2 separate regions of the Homo sapiens genome follow, and region 2 is linked to region 1. Evidence: promoter capture Hi-C in 16 types of primary human blood cells and fetal thymus (Javierre and others, 2016). All regions are on one chromosome and are shown on one strand. The core of a region is centred on a gene start or on the middle of the fragment in contact, and the rest is flanking DNA. Distances in the headings are between cores, read along the strand shown.

What was found. Contacts are between HindIII fragments. The CHiCAGO score rates a contact against its expected background, and 5 or more counts as called.
Region 2: the fragment with the promoter of LCN10 here is called in contact with the fragment with the promoter of ENTPD2 in region 1 in 6 of 17 cell types (erythroblasts, fetal thymus, M0 macrophages and 3 more); the score reaches 6.2 in erythroblasts.

The regions. Positions count from the first base shown.
Region 1 is chr9:137,052,811-137,057,870 of GRCh38, forward strand. It overlaps ENTPD2 (ectonucleoside triphosphate diphosphohydrolase 2), which reads right to left and starts at 1,251. Exons shown (of 9, transcript NM_203468.3): 1 at 1,071-1,251. The coding sequence starts at 1,187. LOC105376327 (a long non-coding RNA gene) reads left to right here. Exons shown (of 2, transcript XR_930455.2): 1 at 1-65; 2 at 200-565. RefSeq lists silencers at 1,237-1,306, 1,407-1,486. The HindIII fragment of the contact is 4,509 bases long and covers 1-1,372 here.
Region 2 is chr9:136,741,089-136,744,901 of GRCh38, forward strand. LCN10 (lipocalin 10) reads right to left here and starts at 1,852. Exons shown (of 6, transcript NM_001001712.3): 1 at 1,699-1,852; 2 at 793-932; 3 at 164-273. The coding sequence starts at 1,815. LCN6 (lipocalin 6) reads right to left here. Exons shown (of 7, transcript NM_198946.3): 5 at 3,552-3,653; 6 at 3,251-3,276; 7 at 2,929-3,054. The coding sequence ends at 3,574. RefSeq lists a silencer at 1,257-1,356. The HindIII fragment of the contact is 7,084 bases long and covers 1-3,813 here.

The DNA of each region.
Region 1 (5,060 bases), core at 1-2,500:
GATGCAGGAGGCAGGGCCCCAGGTGAAGAAGGTCCACCGAGGCTGGCCGTGGGCCTCAGAGCCAGGTCAGCTCTAAAGACACTCTCCCTAGGCCTCCAAGCCAGGGCCAGAGAGAGAGGCTGGCCCTGCCTTGTTGGGGGTGCTGGGTGGGCCTTCCTGCAGACCTGAGTGGCACGAGCTTGTAAATGCCCTTTTCCAGCTCCTGCCCCAGCATCCTGGATCCACCTGGAAAGCTGGGGACCAGCCTCCCAGGCCCGGGCGCCAATTCCAGCCTCCGAGAGGGCCGCACCAGTCCATCCCGACCAAGGCTTCCCCAGAGCCCAGAGCATCAACAGGTCAGCGCGTGCACCGCCACATGGCCGTCCTGCAGGGCCGCAGAGCTCCCTGCTTCTGACTCCCCATCAGGCTGGGGGACTTGGCTCTCCACCCCACCCCCCTACAAGCCCAATAAAGGGTTAAAGGGGCCGACCAGGAGGTCCCTGGGCCTGCTGGAGTGGAGATCCAGGCTAGCCTGCTCCAACCTTTTGAGGACCGGCCAGGGCTGCTCCGGTCAAGCCCTCCTGTCTTTCTGGGCCACTCTCGTGTCCTGGCGGGGGCCCTGGGTCCTGGGGCTTGTGGATCCCCATCTGGGCTGAATACCCAGTCGATGTGGCTCTAACCGCACCCTCCGGGGCGGCGGCACAGGGCAGAAGTGGCCCGGAGTGCCCCTGGGGGCCCGCACAGGCCTGGGGGCGGGCGTCCGGCAGCACCCAGGGGGCATCGCTGGGCTATCCCGGGAGCGGGGACACAGCCCCTGGGCTGCGTTGACGGACTCGGCGGCGGGCGCGGAACTCCCGGGACTTGTTCCTTCAGCACCGCGTCGCCCTGGAAGCGCCACCGCCCCCCGCCCCCTCCGCGTACCCGGTCGGGGAGCGCAGAGCGCGGAACCCGGGACCCCACCCAGCCCGCCAGGAGCAGAGCACGGTGGGGGTCCCGGGCTGATCCTGCTCAGGTTCCCAGCCGCACCCCCTCCCCGGCTCCAAGCCCGGCCCGCTGCTCCCCAGACGTGCGCTGGGTGCCCGGGCGCGCACCTTGAGGGCGGGCGGCTCCCGGACGTCGCGGGTGGGGACGCACAGCAGTAGGAGGCCGGCGAGGCCCGCGGCGGCCAGCAGCAGCGGCGGCAGCAGTGACCGCACCTTCCCGGCCATGGGCGGGCGGGCGCGCGGGAGGACGATGCGTGGACCCGGAGAGTGCGGGGAGCCGGAGGCGGAGGCGGGCGGGGCCGCGGGACCGCGGGGTAGGGGCCCCGGGGCGGGACGAGGGGCGGGAGGCCGGGCGGGCCCGCCCATCACCGGCCACGCCCACGGGCGGACAGGTTTCGCCTCCGCTCCCAAGCTTCCGCCGTCCGGCCCGCGCAGGTGAGAGACGCGGGCGCGGCTGAGTCACCAGCACCGCCCCCCGGCTCCCGGGTCTGAGCCCGGGCGCCCCGCGGCTATGGCCCACCTTCCCCTTCCCGCCCACTCAGCAAGGGGATCCCCCGGCCGTGGAGGCAGGAGACCTGGCGTGGGGGTGGGCGGGCGAGGCTGGCTCGGAGGGTCCTGTGCTGGAGAGCCGCGCTTTTCCCGGGCCCGGGAAAGGAGGCCAGACTCGCTTGCAGGAATGAGGCACTGTCGGCTGCGGAGCCACGCGGGGCCCGGGCTGGGGACTCAGGAGGAAGCCGAGGGTCAGCACCTGTTTGTGGAGCAGGGCCCTGAGCGCCAACTCCCAGGGCTGGTGAGGACCAGGCTGGCCTGCGGGATGCCCTCCCGGCCAGCAAGGATCCGCCAGCCTGCGGCGCTGAGCCAGCGCAGGTCAGCTCCAGAGACACGCAGCTGACCCAGGCCAGAACTACCCTTGAGGCCCAGTCAGATCCACCTCACCTGGGCCCTGTACTGAGGTGAAGGTGAGGACGCAGGAACGGGGAAGGGGAGGGACGGCCCAGGTCACACCGAGCCGAGAAACAGGAGAAGCAGCACAGACCGGGCCAAAGGTCCATACCTCCCAGCCCAGGGCCTCAGCCGCGCCTGCTGCCCCCTCGGCCTGAGGGGAACAGAGGCTTGGGCTGCGGAGGCCAGAGGAGGCTTCCCCAGGACGGAAACAGGTGGGGCCTCTACGTGGCCTGAAAGGCAAGGAAGAGGGTCCCCAGGCCAAGCTTGGGGTGCGGGTCAGCAACAGGCTTCTGGGGACGGCTGGGGCAGGCGAAGCGCAGCTGGCCCCAGACGCAAGCCCTGCTCCTCCGTCCCACGACATGGCTGGCCTTTCGGCTCTGCAGCCTCACAGGCCCCGCATCCCAGCCCGGCCAGGGGCCACCCCCTTTGCGCCTGCTGCAAAGTGGGAATTCTTGTCCCAATAATTCCAGCCACACAGCGTCAGGGAGCCACGAGGCAAGGCCACCAGGGAGTGCAGGCTGCTGGGGCCCAAAGGGCAGCCCCATGGGGCAGGGTCCAGACCATGCCCGGCCTTCTGGAACGGGCAGTGACAATTGTGCTGGGATTGCTGCCTGGGCTGAGGGTCTGGCGCCACAGGCCCAGTAAAGGCATCTTTCTTCCAGCTCAGGACCCCAAAGGGAGGGGTGGGAACCCTGGGAAGCCTCTCTGCTGCCTCAGCCTCACAGCCCAGCCTGGCGGGGCTCCAGCAGGCAATCTCTGGGTGTTGCCGGTGCTAAGCTCCAGGCCCCAGGCCCCAGTTTCCCCCCACACACCCCAGGCCTTTCTTCCACCCCTGACCGCCCAGAGGAGGGAGAGGCACGCACAGTGCACATCATGCCTGAAAAGGAAGGAACAAAGGCCGCCCAGAGGCAGGGTGCTGCGACCCCCACTGGCCTGCGGTACCCCGCTTCCCTCCAGGCCCAGCGGGGCTTCCTGGTGTTCTGGACTCTTTTCATGGACAAAAAGCTCAAGCCAGGGAGTGGGAGGTCTGCCAGGCCTGAGAGGATGGGGAGGGAGAGGGGAGCTGGACTCTGCCCCGGGGAGACAGGCTCATGGCCGAGTGCCCAGCTTCGCCTGCGGAGGGAGAGGCAGGGAGCCCAGAGCGGCCAGGACAAAGGCTGAGGCTGAGCTCTCTTTGAGACGGAGTGAGGGCGGGGGAACGCCCCTTCCTGGCATGGACTCAGGGACCCTGGAAGGCAGACTTGGGAGAGCGTCAGAGGGAAGCTGGCAGGAGCTGAAGGGGTGGAGGGGCCTCTGGGTGGGGCAGCTCTCGGCTTCCAGGACCCTCTCGGGGATGGGGCCTCCAGATGTGCTGCACATGACCCCGGCTGAGCTGGGAACATGCGGATGCAGAGAGGTTAGGGGAGAACCCCTGGGGGAGGGAACTCGGAGCCTCCCGCCCACGCAGGGCTCAGACCTCCCAGGGAGGGGGGCTTTCCTGAGGCCTGCTGACATCTTGGCTGCCCTGCCTCAGTCTCCACATCAGAAGCTTGTGCTGTGTGGCTCACGTCTGTAATTCCAGCACTTTGGGAAGCTGAGGCAGGTGGATCACTTAAGGTCAGGAGTTCAAGACCAGCCTGGCCAACATGGTGAAACGCCGTCTCTAATAGAAATACAAAAATTAGCCGGTTGTGGGCCGGGCGCGGTGGCTCACTCCTGTAATCCCAGCACTTTGGAAGGCTGAGGCGGGCGGATCATCAGGTCAGGAGATCAAGACCATCCTGGCTAACGCAGTGAAATGCCATCTCTACTAAAAATACAAAAAATTAGCCGGGCGTGGTGGCGGGCACCTGTAGTCCCAGCTACTCGGGAAGCTGAAGCAGGAGAATGGTGTGAACCCGGGAGGCGGAGCTTGCAGTGAGCCAAGATCGCGCCACTGCACTCCAGCCTGGGTGACAGAGCGAGTCAAAAAAAAAAAAAAAATTAGTCGGCTGTAGTGGCAGACACCTGTAATTCCAGCTATTTGGGAGGCTGAGGCAAGAGAATCGCTTGAACCTGGGAGGCAGAGGTTGCAGTGAGCTGAGACTGCACCACTGCACTCCAGCCTGGACGACAGAGCGAGATTCCATCTCAAAAGAAAAAAAAAAAAGAAACTTGTGCTGTGGCCGAAACACCTTGATGGTTTAATTGTGAAAGGCCTTTCACTCACTGCTCCCTTTCTGCAGGTGCTCATTAAGTCATTCAACAAACGCTTGCTGAGTAGTACTCCTGGGTGCCCAAAGCACGCCAGGCTCCATGCATGCACAGGGAGCCCTGTGGGGAGGGCACCCACTGGCCTGGGGAGAGCAGACTTTGCAAAGGCCCACGGGAGGCGGGGAAGCCTGTGCTGTCCTGTTCGAGGTCGGAGACACAACAGAATGGGAGGTGCACATATGCACAGTTGGTAAGAGCAATGCCAGGGTGGCAGCAGGACCCCATTGGTGGTCTCTGATGTGCTGGACGTGCTGTTCTGGGACTTGCTTCTTTCACTCACGTTACGCGTTTGGGATTCACCCTGTTGACACTGAGAGGTGTGGCTTGTTTGTTCCTTGCTGTATTCCATCCTGTGAGTGAGAACATGCAGACGGCGTGTCGCTGCAGCTGGTGAACACACAGTGTCTGGCTTTAGGCTTTGCTGAGATTGCTGCTCTGCACATATACACTCTTTTTTTTAATTTTATTTTTTATCTGAGGTGGAGTCTGGCCCTATCGCTCAGGCTGGAGTGCAGTGGCGCGATCTCAGCTCACTGCAACCTCCACCTCCTGGGTTCAAGCGATTTCCCGCCTCAGCCTCCTGAGCAACTCGGATTACAGGCGCCTATAACCATTCCCCACTAATTTTGTATTTTTAGTAGAGACAGGGTTTCACCATATTGGCCAGGCTGGTCTCAAACTCCTGACCTCAGGCGACCCGCCTGCCTCGGCCTCCCACAGTGCTGGGATGACAGGTGTGAGCCACCGCGCCCGGCCTCTCCGTCTGCGTCGGCCTCCCACAGTGCTGGGGTGACAGGTGTGAGCCGCTGCGCCGGCCGCATGTGTGCTCTTGAGAGCACTTCTCTGGGGAGCATCCCGGATCTGAACTGCTGGTTGTCAGGCAAGTGTGTGTTCTGCTTCTCTAGCAAGTGCCAAATTCTT
Region 2 (3,813 bases), core at 602-3,101, 310 kb before region 1:
CCTCCCGGGCCAGGCCGCCCAGCACATGACGTGTGGGCTCTGGGAACACAGCCAGCCTGACGCCTGCCTGCCACGTGCTCTCGGGGACAAGGGGCCTGCTCAAGGCACAGGGGGGTCAGAGGCATATCACGCAGCTCCTCCAGGGCCCAGAGCCCAAGCACACCTCCCTCCTGTCCTTCCCTCGGGCCCGCCGCGTATGCACAGGCGTTCCCAAACACCGGCTTCTTCCCGTCTTTCCTCAGGATCACCTCCTGGGACTGGCACCCCTTCAACCTGGGGCCAAGGCGGGGGCTCAGGCTGCAGACCAGGGAACCCCTCCTCCCGCCTGCCAGCCACCGAGCCCCACCCACACGTCTCGGTCCCGCCCCTGCTCCCGTGGGACCCGGGAAGGTTGGGGCCCCAGGTCCCCAGTTTTTTGCTTCACTATCCAACTCGTGTCAATCTGAGGCTCTGTGGTTTGAGGATTTTCCAATTCGGACTGGGGCCTGTCCCACGGCACGAGAGAAACTCCCAACACCCACCCGTGTGGGGCCCAGGAGCTGCAAGCGGCTTCCTCCCAACACCTACCCATGTGGGGTCCCAAGGTCTGCAGGCAGCTTCCTCCCAACACCCACCCATGTGGGGTCCCAGGGGCTGCAGGTGGCTTCCTCTGAGTTTAGGGGGAGGAAGTGGGGGGACGGTTCTTGTGGAACTTCCAGACAGACAGGCTCCTCCCAGACTCCTTTCCAGCCCCGAGGCAGCTCCCTCCTCCTGGAAGGGGAGACCCTTGCCTGGGGGGCGCTGCCCACTCACCGTCTGAAGGCGAGGAGCACGCGGAGCTGGCCCACTTTGTTCACCTTTACCACGGACGCCCCCAGCTTCCTCTTGTCCCTGGCCGGCAAGAATCCCTGGGCATCAGTGGCAGTGGCCAGAATGTACCAGAACCCTGAAAACTGCGCAGCGGATGTGTGGGCGGGGACAGGAGCTGCCACCGGGGGCTGTCCCCACCCCCGAGGTTCCCAGCTAGAGAACCCAGGAGACAAATGACCCTTCTGTGAGCCGGAGTCCCAGCTCCGCCCAGGTGCCGCCTCGGTCCCGGCCACTCAAGCCCTGGCCACTGGAGCAGGGCTGCAGAGAAGCAGGTGCCCGGCTGGTCAGGGACCCCAGGCAGCAAAGGGCTGGGCTGTGGGCGCCAGCAGGTGGGAGGCCCCCTACCTCAGAGGCCCCGGCTCCTTCCCACATGGCCTCCTGGGGGCTGGGTACTGCTCGGCCACTTCCCTTCCTGCCGGCCCCCGGCCCCCAACTCTGCCTGCTGCCAACCCTAGCGCCCTGGGCACCGCCGTGCCAATGAGTGCTGCTCCCACGGCTCACTCAGCAGGTGCCCGGGCCCTCCCGCTACAGAATATGCCCCGCTTGCTCCACACCCACTCTGCACTCTGGGCGTCTCCCGACCTCCTCGGCCACAGCTCTCTGGGCCCCTCCACCCTGGCCCTCCCTGACCCCCCTGGGCCCCCGAACCCCCTCGAGGCTCCCTGCCTTTGCCCTGCAACTTGCGGGGCCCCTGTGCTGGAGGCTGCAGTGGGAGAGGCCAGGTGGGCAGCGCCCGTGCCTGGAACTGCTGGTAGCCCTGCTCCTGGGCGGCTGCCGGGAGACTGTGCAGGAGCCTGCTCCAGCTCCAGAGCCGGCGCCCGGCTCAGGGACCAGTGGCACATGGCTCACCTTGTTCCAGTTGAGGGCGTGGGACTCCCTGGGGTACCACTCCTGCACCTGGGACCCTGCAGCCAGCACTAGCACCAGCACCAGCACCAGCGCCAGCACCAGCAGCCCCTGCCTCATCTTCACCCTCCTCCCTCAGCCGCCAAGGCCAGTGTTTAAACCTCTCTGGAGCCGCCAGCCTGTGTCGGGAGAGGAGGGAGGGGAGGGAGCGGAGGGAGGCAACAGGTGTGGCCTTGGGCTCTGCTACCCTCTCCCCGCCCAGGGACCACCCCCAGACACTCCAGGGAAGCCGGCACTGCCCCACCTGGTGGTCACTGCTGGCCTGGGCTGCCCTGGCAGACAGAGGCCCCTCTGAGGCCCCAGGACCCTCCTGCCCTCAGTGCCCGGCCTGGGGTCACTGTGTGTGCCCCTGAGACTCATTAAGCCCTGGCCCTCATCCTAGACCTCCCAGGTGACAGGCAAAGGGCTGGTCGTGGCCCTTCTGGGGCAGATGTGGACATGGTGAGCTCTGCGCGGCAGCCACACACACAGCCCCCACCACCTTCTTGAGGGCCTGGCACCAAGCACCTGAGCAGGTGCCGAAGGGCGGGCCGGGGCTGTGTGCCCGTGCCCATGAATGTGTGTGTGTGCATGTGTGGGTGTGTGCTCACATGTGCATGCGTGTGCATGCCCAGCCTTGCAGGTCAAGGCATCTGTGTGCACCTCGCCTCACTCCAGCATGAGCCTCACACAGTCCCCAGCCCCCCATCCAGCCCCGAGACCCCCATGGCCTGTGCTTCTCCCAGGACGGCAGGCAGCGCAGCCCCCCACACCCATCAGAACACAGGAGGACCTGCAGGCTCAGGTGTCTGGGGTCCCTGCCCCTGCCCAGGCAAGAGACACAACCCCAGCCCAGAGAAGCCTGAGCCTGGGGAGTCAGGGGCTGCTCTGAGCCCCACCAGCCACCTCTCTCTTGTCCTGGGCAGTCCTTGGAGCCTCTGGCACCCCAGCTGCGGTCCTGGTGGAGCTCACTGCTGGCTTCCTCCCAGGCTGTGTCCTCTGACCAGCCCCCGCCTCTGAGCCCGGGCCTGAGTTTGGGTGTCTGAAGACCCAGAGGGGCTCTGGCAAGGGACTGGGTTGGGCACGCGTCTTCTTTGCAGCTGGCTCTATGGTTCTGTGGCTTGGCCCTTGGTGACGACCCCCGCCATCCTCCCCGCAATTCCCCGGCTGGCCCCCAGTCAAAAGCATCCTTGGTTTGCTGTGGAATCGCTTTATTCTGAGCTGGTGCTGGGCCCCGGGAGCCGCTGAGCGAGGTGGGTGGACACTGGCCGAGGTCACAGGACCCTGTGGGCGCCATCCCTACTGGGGACGCAGCACTCACTGAAAACCAAGAGGAGTGTGAGGGGGCCCAGCCCACCATGGAGGCTCCTCCACACCCTCAGCTGCCTTAGAGACAGTGGAGCCATGAACCCCGTGGGCTTGGGCAGAGGGTCCTCCCACCCACTGTGCGTAGGGTGGCCTCCCCCACCCCCTTCCCCCAAGAGAGCCCAGGGTGAGGCTCAGGATGGCGGCTTACCAGAAGGATCTTGTGAGCACAGGTGACTAGAAGGGGAGGCAAGACTGGCTGTGAAAAAGGACTGAGCCCCCCAGCACCCCAGGGCCCCACCCACAAGACTCGCCTGCCGTGGGGACAAGACCCCCAGGCCTGACTTTGGGCAGGGGCAGGTGAAGACCCCCTCAGCCTGCCTGACTCCTTCAGGGCGACTGAGTCAGGCAGAAGCCAGAATCAACCCCAGGGTCTCTGTCACCCCATCACGCCCTGTGGGCTCCAGAACTTGCCCCAAGCCTCCCCCGAGGCTGCTCCGGTGGACACTCACGGTCCTTCTGCAGCTGGGCCTGCTACTGTGACAGGAAGCCCAGGCTCCTGCTCCACTTGGTGAAGAGCCCCATGGCCTCCTGGCTGGCTGTCTCCGTCAGACCTGGGGGCACCAGGGCAGTGCAGGGGGAAGCAACCTCTGAGAGCTGGGGAGGGGCCGGGGAGGGGCTGGGAAGGGTCAGGAAGGAGGCCACCTGCCCTGGGATGCTGGCCCCGGTCCTTCCAAAGCCACCTCCAGTGCAGCGAGCCTCAAGGTGGGGGAA